3 separate regions of the Homo sapiens genome follow, and regions 2 and 3 are each linked to region 1. Evidence: promoter capture Hi-C in human tissues and cell types (Jung and others, 2019). All regions are on one chromosome and are shown on one strand. The core of a region is centred on a gene start or on the middle of the fragment in contact, and the rest is flanking DNA. Distances in the headings are between cores, read along the strand shown.

Region 1 (3,318 bases), core at 334-2,833:
ATGACTATTAATAGGAACCAACTAAAAAAATACTTGACTAGCTGTTATTGAAAGGCTGAAATTCAGCTGACATAAGCAGTATTAATATTGAGCTAGAAAATAATTCGCATTGAATCCACCCCAACTTTTGTTTTCTGATTTGGGTCTCTTCTAAATTTTTTTTTTCTTCTGGACATTGGGAACAATCCAATTTGAAGGCCTCAATGACCAAATCTACACTCATGTTTTATTCTATATCCTTGGTTTCTTTTTTTTTTTTTGAAACAGTCTTGGTCTGTCGCCCAGGCTGGAGTGCAGTGGCGCAATCTCGGCTCACTGCAACCTCCGCCTCCCGGGTTCAAGCTATTCTCTGCCTCAGCCTCCCAAGTAGCTGGGATTACAAGCACCCACCACCACTCCTGGCTAATTTTTGTATCTTCAGTAGAGATGGGGTTTCACCATCTTGGCCAGGCTGGTCTTGAACTCCTGACCTCGTGATCCACCCGCCTCAGCCTCCCAAAGTGCTGGGATTACAGGCGTGAGCCACCACGCCCGGCCCTACATCCTTGGTTTCAGTAAATCTCTATTCTAAAACTGAAAAAGAGAAAACATTGCAGATAAAACTTTACAGCAGGGTCTTGTGTTTTGTTCAGGACAAGATTCGTAAGCTCCAAATGCTACAAGGAACCCTGCCTGAGTGCTGGCAACTTTTTTATCCTGACTGGGCAGCCGTTGTACATATTTCTGTAGAAATTCATGGAGCTGTATACTTTACTGTAATTCTACCCGATACAAAAGATTATAATACTTGGCTGGCTACCATTTATTGTGACTGTCTAGCCACAATGCCAGGCACTGTGCTAGACACATCACACGATTCTCAGCTAATCCCCGCCCCATTCTATTCCCATTTTACTGCTGAAGGATCTGAGGCTCAGAGAAGGCAAGCCACTTACCAAAGGTCCCACAGCAATAAACAGACAAGGCAGAATTCGGTTTCAAGTTGGTCTAACTGTATGTGAAGGCTGAAATGTCCGGGAGGCAGGCACCTCATACCAGAATGTTAGGCGTGGAGGGGGTGCTCAAATCCTTTCATTTAACAGCAGATGAGGCTATTGAAAGACTGTCTCGGTCAACAGCTGGAAGACAAACCCACCACGGTCCAGACTGCAGTTCTCGTGTCCTTTTGGCCCGGCTGGGTTCCACTGGATTGGATGAGGACGCGTTTGTGGAGGGAGCAGGAATAAGGAAGATCTCCTTCCCACCTGCTGTTCCCCAGAGCCGGGAGCACCCGGCGTCGGGGGTGGGAGGGAACAGCGGCCAGGCCGAGCCTCCAGCACCCGGCTCCCTCCGTGCGCCCTCGGACCCCAGGGGCACCGTCCCCGCGCGCGCTCCCTGCCGCCCTACCTGGATGGACCGCCGGCTGCCGGCTGGGCCTGCCGGGCTGGAGCGCACTGCCGCTGGACTCGCTCATGGCCGCGCCCCGCGCTCCTCAGAGGCTGCCGAGGACCCTCTCCAGCCGCCGCCGCCGCCGCCGCCTCCCCGGCCTTCCCTCGCGGAGCCGGGATTCCAGGTTCCGGCGCTGACATCACAGAAGCCGGAGTGGGGCGCCCCCGCGAGGAGCCGAGCATCAGGGACCGCAGAGGGGCTGCAGAGCCCGGGAGATCCGGCAAGGCTCCATCCAGCGGTGGCGACAAGCAGCGACCTCCCTGATGTCTCACTGAGCTTAAAAAATAACAATAGATTGGGCGCACTGGGAGCCCAGTCTCCACCAGGACCCGGTACACCCATGTAACAAACATGCACATGGACCCCCTGCATCTAAAATCAAACCTGATCTAATAAAGAAATAAATAACAAAAATAACTGGTTGGGAGTGGTGGCTCACGTCTGTAATCCTCGCATTTTGGGAGTCCGAGGCTGGAGGACCGCACGAACTCACAAGTTTGAGACCAACCTGGCCAACACAGTGAGACCCCCATCTTTAAAATTAAAAAATAAAAAGTCCACACGCAAAAAACCCCAAGACTCCAAATCAGTGCATCTAGTAAGTTACCATTTGGGAACAAAAAGGAAACCAAAAAATATATTTGTACATGCTTGTAAATGCCTAAGCTATCTCCCTAGAGGGTGCAAAAAACTGGCTACCTGTGGTAGCTCTGGGTGGGGAGCTAGAGGGCCGAGTGAAGAGAAAACCACGTGCAGTGTTTGTCTTTTACGTTTTGCACTATATCCTCGTTTCATCTCTACCTCTGTTCGTGTGCAGGTTAAAAACATAAAATTGCCAGGCGCAGTGGCTCACACCTGTAATCTCACCACTTTGAGAGGCCGAGGCGGGAGGATCACCTGAGGTCAGGAGTTCGAGACTATCCTGGCCAACACGGTGAAACCCTGTCTCTACTAAAAATACAAAATTAGCCTGGCATGGTAGTGCATGCCTGTAGTCCCAGCTACCAGGGAGGCTGAGGCAGGAGAATCGCTGGAACCCAGGAGGCAGAGGTTGCAGTGAGCCGAGATCACGCCACTGCACTCCAGCCTGGGCGACAGAAGGAGACTCCATCTCAGAAAAAAAAAGAAAAAGAAAAGTAATTGCTAAATATAAATAAATGGGGAAAATGGAGAGAAATCTCCTGTGCAGATTTTGAAATCATTTACGTAGATACTTTAAGGATGGGGAGCTTAGCTCCCTACTCCTTAAGTGTGAGTTGCCCATAGCGACATCCTTCCAAAAGAGTGCAGTATGGAAGTGGTGGTGGAAGAGGGTGAGGGTGGGTTTTATATTAGATAATACCTGACAAACACTGTCTCAGACAGATGATCAAAGTTAACATCATCCGGGATCAGTGGCTCACACCTGTAATCCCAGCACTTTGGGAGGCCGAGGCAGGTGGATCACTTGAGGTCAGGAGTTCGAGACCAGCCTGGCCAACATGGCGAAACCCTGTCTCTACCAAAAATACAAAAAAATTAGCTGGGCATGGTGGCGGGCGCCTGTAATCCCAGCTACTAGGGAGGCTGAGGCAGGAGAATCTCTTGAACCCAGGAGGCGGAGGTTGCAGTGAGTCGAGATTGCACTACTGCACTCCAGCCTGGGCAACAGAGTAAGACTCCATCTCAAAAAAAAAAAGTAAATAAGTAAATAAGTTAACATCAACATTAAGCCATGAGGATGGTGTGCACCCTTCCTACGATGGGATGAGAAGGGCACTTTACCTCTGTGGTCATAAGAAAAATATCAGACAAATTCAACTGAGGGGCATTCTACAGAATACCTGATTAGTATTCCTCAAAACTGTCAAGGTCATTTAAAAAAAAAAAAAAAGGAGGCTGGAGACTGGG
Region 2 (3,318 bases), core at 280-2,779, 160 kb before region 1:
TTCACCCACTGGGGTTTCTGTAAACTAGCCCACTTCCTTTTCTCTTTATTTTTATTTTATTTTATTTTATTTTATTTTTTTGAGACGGAGTCTCGCTCTGTCATCCAGGCTGGAGTGCAGTGGTGCAATCTCGGCTCACTGCAGCCTCCGCCTCCCAGGTTCCAGCGATTCTCCTGCCTCAGTCTCCCAGGTAGCTGGGATTAGAGGCACACGCTACCACGCCCGGCTCATTTTTGTATTTTTGATAGAGACACGGTTTTACCCTGTTGGCCAGGCTGGTCTCAAACTCCTGACCTCAGGTGATCCGCCTGCCTCAGCCTCCCAAAGTGCTGGGGTTATAGGCATGAGCCACCGTGCCCGGCCATTCTCTTTTTCTTTAAATCCCGCCTGGGAAAAAGAAAAAGAGTACATTGTGCACAACCAATTTAAAAACACCTGCCTGTGTCTTCAACAATAGTCTGTTCCACTTTAAAAGTGCAAGGCCTGACAATGCCCTGGGGTTCCTAGTGCCTTAGATAAACTGTAGCCTTTGTAGAGCTAACCCCCCAAAGCTGTTAGAAGCCAGGGCCAGGATTCAGCTGTGCCAGTCTGATGTTTACTTTTCACCAAAGTATTGTCTGAATAGAACCCATTCTGCTGTTTTAGAAAGTATAAATCTTTGGGGGCTACTCAGGAAGGGTAGCTCTGAGGAGGAGACCCAAGAAGGGGCTTAGAGTTGAGACTCTAGTAGGGAGGAAGACTTGAAAGTGAGGACCTTTACTACACCATCAGAATAAGAAAATGCCAGGTGTCTATATTAAACATTGGCAGACTGATAGAAATTGGGGGATGGGGAATGTTAAACCTCCCAGTGCCGTCCCCATGGAGCCACCACTGGTATTCAGGTCTCAGGAAAGGAAACCACAAATCACCAGGAGGATGGGAATTTGGAGTTCAATGTTGGTCCCAACCAAGGTAGTAGAATTTTGTATCTTAGAACATCAGAGCTGGCTGTGACGTGCCAGAAATTGGGTGTTTCAGAAATATTTGTTTAAAGTTAAGTAGGGATTAGCTTGGGTTGTGATTTTGCTCATCTTTTTGATGTCATTGAGACCAGGGATCCAGCAATTCCTGAATCTTGTTGTCCATCTCCTAACACCCTCCTGTTCACTCCACCCCACTCCCAAAGTTCCTTAGGGAGCTATATGCAAGAAGCAGCAGCTACATTGGAATCAAAACACCTTTTTATTAATAGTTGAATCTGGACCTAATAGTCACCAATGTAGAGCTTCCTTTAAAAAGTTAGAATATCACTTGAGCTCAGGAGTTCGAGGCTGCAATGAGCTAGGCTCACACCACTGCATTCCAGCCTGGGCGACAAAGCGAGACCCTATCTCTTAAAAAAAAAAAAAAAAGAGTTAGATTAGAGCCCTTGGTTTAGGCTGTAATCTAAAACCCTTTTTCTAGTCCCACTCCACCTCCCAATTAATGAATATAAATCTTGGAGTCTTACCAAACTTAATACACAACCCAACCCAATGGCTCACATGTAAGGCAATGTGCAAGAGCTCAGGCAGGCCGTTAGATCAGAGCACTGCCCAGCCTGTAACAGGGGAAGAAGAGCAGAGCTGCAGCCTTTGCCACACAGTGACACTAGGGATGCATGGCCCAAGGAGTGTCTAGGACTCTGATGGAGCCAATTAGCACCTTCTCCTTGCAGAGAAGCTAAAAAGATAACAGGCAGAGAGTGGCCAGCTAGGCAATCTGAAGAGTCCTCTCTGCCTAAATAAATGAATAAAGAAATAACCTCTCAGGCACCATCGAACTCCTACACTTTACAGATGAGAAAACTGAGATCCCAGTGGGAAAGAGGCTAGCCCAGGGTCACACAACAGGACCATTGGCACAGGTAGAGGGAGAACCTGGGTTTCTGATTTCTGATTCAGAGCTTGGCAGATTGGACTCAATTGGACCCAGTTGGTAGCTCTTCCCTATTGTATTCAGCCTTCAGGACCTACACAACTCTGTAAAAGAATGAAACAAGCTTAAGTGTAATGGAATCTCCTGGAAATGACAGCAACACTCCCACTGGCCGAAACAGGATCACAGGACCATCCCTAGGTGCAAAGGAGTCTGGGAAAGCAGGGAATGGAATTGAGCAATTGATTGGCTTATCGACCAACCATCATCCATAGTCTAGAGCAAGCCCACTCCTAATTGGAACAAATTCAGAGTAGACAAAAAAGTAGGGGGAATGGGTCACTTGTAGGTCACATTTTCCAACCCAGTGATAAGATAATATTATGTTCATATTATAAAGAAAGAGCCTGATATTAGAGAGCTAAAGTGATTTGCCCAAGGTCACAGCTAATTAATGGTCAAATCACATTTCTGCCTGATTCCAGAGTCTGAGCTCTTAGCTACAATGGAATATTGACTTTCAGAAAGAGCACAAAAAATATGGAACTCTTCGAGTTTGAGAATCTTACTTTGCAAAGCTATGCTAATGTTCTCGAAATCATCTAATCAAATGATACTTGAAATTAGTATACATTTTTTCATTCAAAGCAACAAAAAATCATTTTTTAATCATAGCAATTTGAGAACATTCTTTCTTCACAATGGAAGCATATAGGACCATTAAGTTGTACAATCCCAGGAGGTGCCATTCATATAGCAGCCCGTATTCATAGCACCTTCTAGAGTTGTGCAGTGCCCAACCCACTCAGCCAGATATTAAATCGTGCAAAATTAAACATGTTTATCTGGTCCTTCATTTCCTCATCCACAAAGTGAGCTGGTTGTTCTAGAAAAATTCAGAGGTTCCTTTTGAGACTGAATAAGATACTGTGACAAACCATGTATATTCGCAAGGAGAATAATAAATAGGCAAGAATATAAAAGTGTCTTATGCCTTCCCAGGAAGGCTTGCTTTGCAAGGTGCAGAATAGAGATCGTTCTGAAATATTCCTCGTAATACAGCCTTTTCGGTTATAAAAACACCCTTGTTAACAATCCAGAACACTCAGGAGCTTAATTTCTTCAGAAACAAAGTACGTCCTTATAGTCACATAAAAGTGTTCCCTCTTCCTCGTCAGACTAACGGCAAACGGGGCATTGATCCCTGAAGGACACTATTTATGGGCAGTGCGCCTGCTAAGAATTGGCATGACCTTTTTTCCCATATCTGTCTAGTCCCCAGAGGGATAGGCCCGCTTATTACATTTTCCCAGCCGGGAGTTTAGCTCCACAGGCAACCTCCTGTCATTTGTTTGTCTGATGGGTATTATTTCTTCTAAGAATCTAATTAGGATCTTTTAAAGAGTTCAGCCTGGGAGT
Region 3 (3,318 bases), core at 251-2,750, 150 kb after region 1:
CAACCTCCGTCTCTGAGGTTCAAGCAATTCCTCTGCCTCAGCCTCCAGAGTAGCTGGGACTACAACACCACCAAGCCCGGCTAATTTTTGTCTTTTTAGTACAGACGGGGTTTCACTATATTGGCCAGGCTGGTCTTGAACTCCTGACCACGTGATCTGCCTGCCTGGGCCTCCCAAATTTCTGGGATTACAGGCGTGAGCCACTGCGCCTGGCCAATTGTATTTCTTATTGGGAGTGGAAGCAAAGTTGTATTCTGCAGCCTTGACCTCCCTGGGCTCAGGTGATCCTCCCACTTCAGCCTCCCAAGTAGCTGGGACCACGGGCGTGTGTCACCACGCCTGAACAATTTTTATATTTTTTTGTAGAGATGGAGTTTCGCCGTGTTGCCCAGGCTGGTCTCGAACTCCTGAGCTCAAGCGATCCTCCTGCCTTGGCCTCCCAAAGTGCTAGGATTACAGGTATGAGCCGTGGTGCCTGGCCTCAAATGTTGATTCTGTCACAGTCATCAACAAGTCCTTTTAGGAAATTGCTTAAGCTCTTGAGACATTTTTATCTGTAAAATGTAAATAATGATTTCTACTCTTCAAGTTTTGTTTGAGGATTAAATGCAATATTCTTTTGTATGTTGGGGGTGGTTGTGTTATAAACAAGCACCTCTTCCTTATTTTTATAGATATGAAATGCAATATGCTCCCCAGCCACCCCCAACAGTGTGTCAGTTCATCACTGCCACTGAAATGACCCTGCAGCGATACGCAGCAGACATCAACAGCAGACTTATTAGACAAGTGGAACGCTTGAAACAGGAAGCTGTCACTGTGCCAGTTTGTGAAGATCAGTTGAAAGAAATTGAACGTTGCATTAAAGTTTTCCTTCATGAGAATGGAGAAGAAGGATCTTTGAGTCTAGCAAGTGTTATTATTTCTGCCCTTTGTACCCTTACAAGGTAAGTTAGCCAACTTCATATTGGACCATTTCCTGTGTCTTATTTTTAATCCCAAACCTAAAATGTTCTTTTACTTTCCTTAGTCTTGCCAAGTGTTACAGCTGCTTACTTGCTTTTCAGATTTTAGTTATCTTGGTTGTGTTTTGAGACAGGGTCTCACTCTTGACACTGAGGCTGGAGTGCAGTGGCACGATCTCGGCTCACAGCAACCTCAGCCTCCTTAATAGCTGGGACTACAGGTGTGTGCCACCACACCTGGCTAATTTTTGTATTTTTTGGTAGAGATGGGGTTTTGCCATATTGATCAGGCTGGTCTCGAACTCCTGGCCTGAAGTCATCTACCTGCCTCGGCCTCCCAAAATGCTGGAATTACAGGCATGGCCTTGACCCGGCCAGTTACCTTGTTTTGTTTATACATTTAAGTTTCACTGTACAGATATTTATCTCTTGTAGGCGTAACCTGATGATGGAAGGTGCAGCGTCAAGTGCTGGAGAACAGCTGGTTGATCTGACTTCTCGGGATGGAGCCTGGTTCTTGGAGGAACTCTGCAGTATGAGCGGAAACGTCACCTGCTTGGTTCAGTTACTGAAGCAGTGCCACCTGGTGCCACAGGACTTAGATATCCCGAACCCCATGGAAGCGTCTGAGACAGTTCACTTAGCCAATGGAGTGTATACCTCACTTCAGGTGAACACTTTTATTTTAAATATTAGTTTGTTTTAGATACTGAATATTGTCTTTCTCATCTCTTTAACCCAGGAAAGCAATTTGACTTCCCCATTTGAATGTTGCTCAACCAGTCATTTAAAAGGAAGATAATTGTGAGATTTATAGCTATAACTTGGTTACAGTTGCTCTTTGTTTTTTTGAATTTTTATAGCAGCTTTATTTGTAATAGTCAAAAACTGGAATCAAGTCAAGTGTTCATCAAGCAAATGGACAAATATGGTACATCCACATAATGGAATACTTCTTAGCAATAAAAGTGAACGACACCTTGATAACATACAGCCACATGTATGACTTACAATAATTATGCTGAGTAAAGAAAGCTAGACATTTCTACCCCTATAAATGGAGAGTGTATAATATGAGAAAAAGCAGATCAGTGTTTACTTGGAGATGGAGGAGGTGGTATGGAGAAGTGTGAGTGAGAGAGATTAAGAAGTCAGGAGGAAATTTGTAGGGTAGTCGGTATGCTGATTTTCTTGATTGTGGTGACAGTTTCATGAGTGTATGCAAGTACCAAAGTATAACAAATTATATATTTTAAACATGCAGTTTATTATATGCAAATTATACCTTGATAAGACTTTTTTTTTTTGAAGGGAAATAGAAGCCACTTATAACCAAACCAAAAAGAGAATAACAATGCTAATATCACTACAGAAATATGATTCCTAAAAATTAATAACATTATATAACATACTTTAGGGCAGTTCTTTTTGTTCTTAAGGTACATCATCCTAGGAATGTTTAATTATATGACAACTTTTTAAAGTCATTTGAAATAGTTCCTGAAAAATTTCACATGACTATGAAATAGAATTTGAAAAGAAAATATTTAAAAGTAGAAATAAAAAGTAAACAAAAGATGTACTTACATGAATGAGTTGATGGCATAGTTACATAAGTTTGCTCTTAATGTATGGCTCTAAGTCTCCAAATGTGTAACTTAGCTAAACTCAAAAAACATTAAAAGTTTTTTTCTCATATATTTATAGGAATTGAATTCGAATTTCCGGCAAATCATATTTCCAGAAGCACTTCGATGTTTAATGAAAGGGGAATACACGTTAGAAAGTATGCTGCATGAACTGGACGGTCTTATTGAGCAGACCACCGATGGCGTTCCCCTGCAGACTCTAGTGGAATCTCTTCAGGCCTACTTAAGAAACGCAGCTATGGGACTGGAAGAAGAAACACATGCTCATTACATCGATGTTGCCAGGCAAGTGAATGCTGGCTGTGCCGTTTCCTTGTAAAAGAGATGGGACAGCCAGAGAAAGGGATTCTGAGCTCTTTAACGTAAGTTTACTTTTAGTTTTTAGAGCAGGTATAATTACTTATAAATGCTCATACACGTATCTTTTTAAAACTTTTTTATTTTGAAATAATTATACATCACGAGAAGTTGCTTAAAAAAAAAGTGCAGGCAGGTATTGTGCATGCTTCATCCTTCCTTCAGTGTTAGTATCTATAGTAACACTATGAAACCGACAATGATATAGTCCACACCGCTTACTCAGATTTCACTAGTTATACATGCACTTATTTGTGTGTGTGTGTGTGTGTGTGTGTGTGTGTGCAAGTGTATAGTTCGGTCACATACATACATATATCCTTTTAGTGCTTGTAGTTATGTACATG

What was found. Contacts are between HindIII fragments. The study calls those that stand out against the background at their distance.
Region 2: a contact is called between a fragment that was not itself captured here and the fragment with the promoter of TMC7 in region 1, in 2 of the 25 tissues and cell types used here (neural progenitor cells and ovary).
Region 3: a fragment that was not itself captured here is called in contact with the fragment with the promoter of TMC7 in region 1 in 1 of the 25 tissues and cell types used here (lymphoblastoid cells).

The regions. Positions count from the first base shown.
Region 1 is chr16:18,982,199-18,985,516 of GRCh38, reverse strand. It overlaps TMC7 (transmembrane channel like 7), which reads right to left and starts at 1,583. Exons shown (of 16, transcript NM_024847.4): 1 at 1,387-1,583. The coding sequence starts at 1,453. RefSeq lists a silencer at 1,613-1,672. The HindIII fragment of the contact is 36,131 bases long and covers 1-3,318 here.
Region 2 is chr16:19,143,444-19,146,761 of GRCh38, reverse strand. No RefSeq gene overlaps it. Among named protein-coding and RNA genes, the nearest start is that of SYT17, 23 kb to the left of the region's middle. The HindIII fragment of the contact is 5,413 bases long and covers 1-3,318 here.
Region 3 is chr16:18,832,521-18,835,838 of GRCh38, reverse strand. It overlaps SMG1 (SMG1 nonsense mediated mRNA decay associated PI3K related kinase), which reads left to right. Exons shown (of 63, transcript NM_015092.5): 49 at 675-947; 50 at 1,401-1,635; 51 at 2,673-2,899. Among named protein-coding and RNA genes, the nearest start is that of ARL6IP1, 33 kb to the right of the region's middle. The HindIII fragment of the contact is 5,083 bases long and covers 1-3,318 here.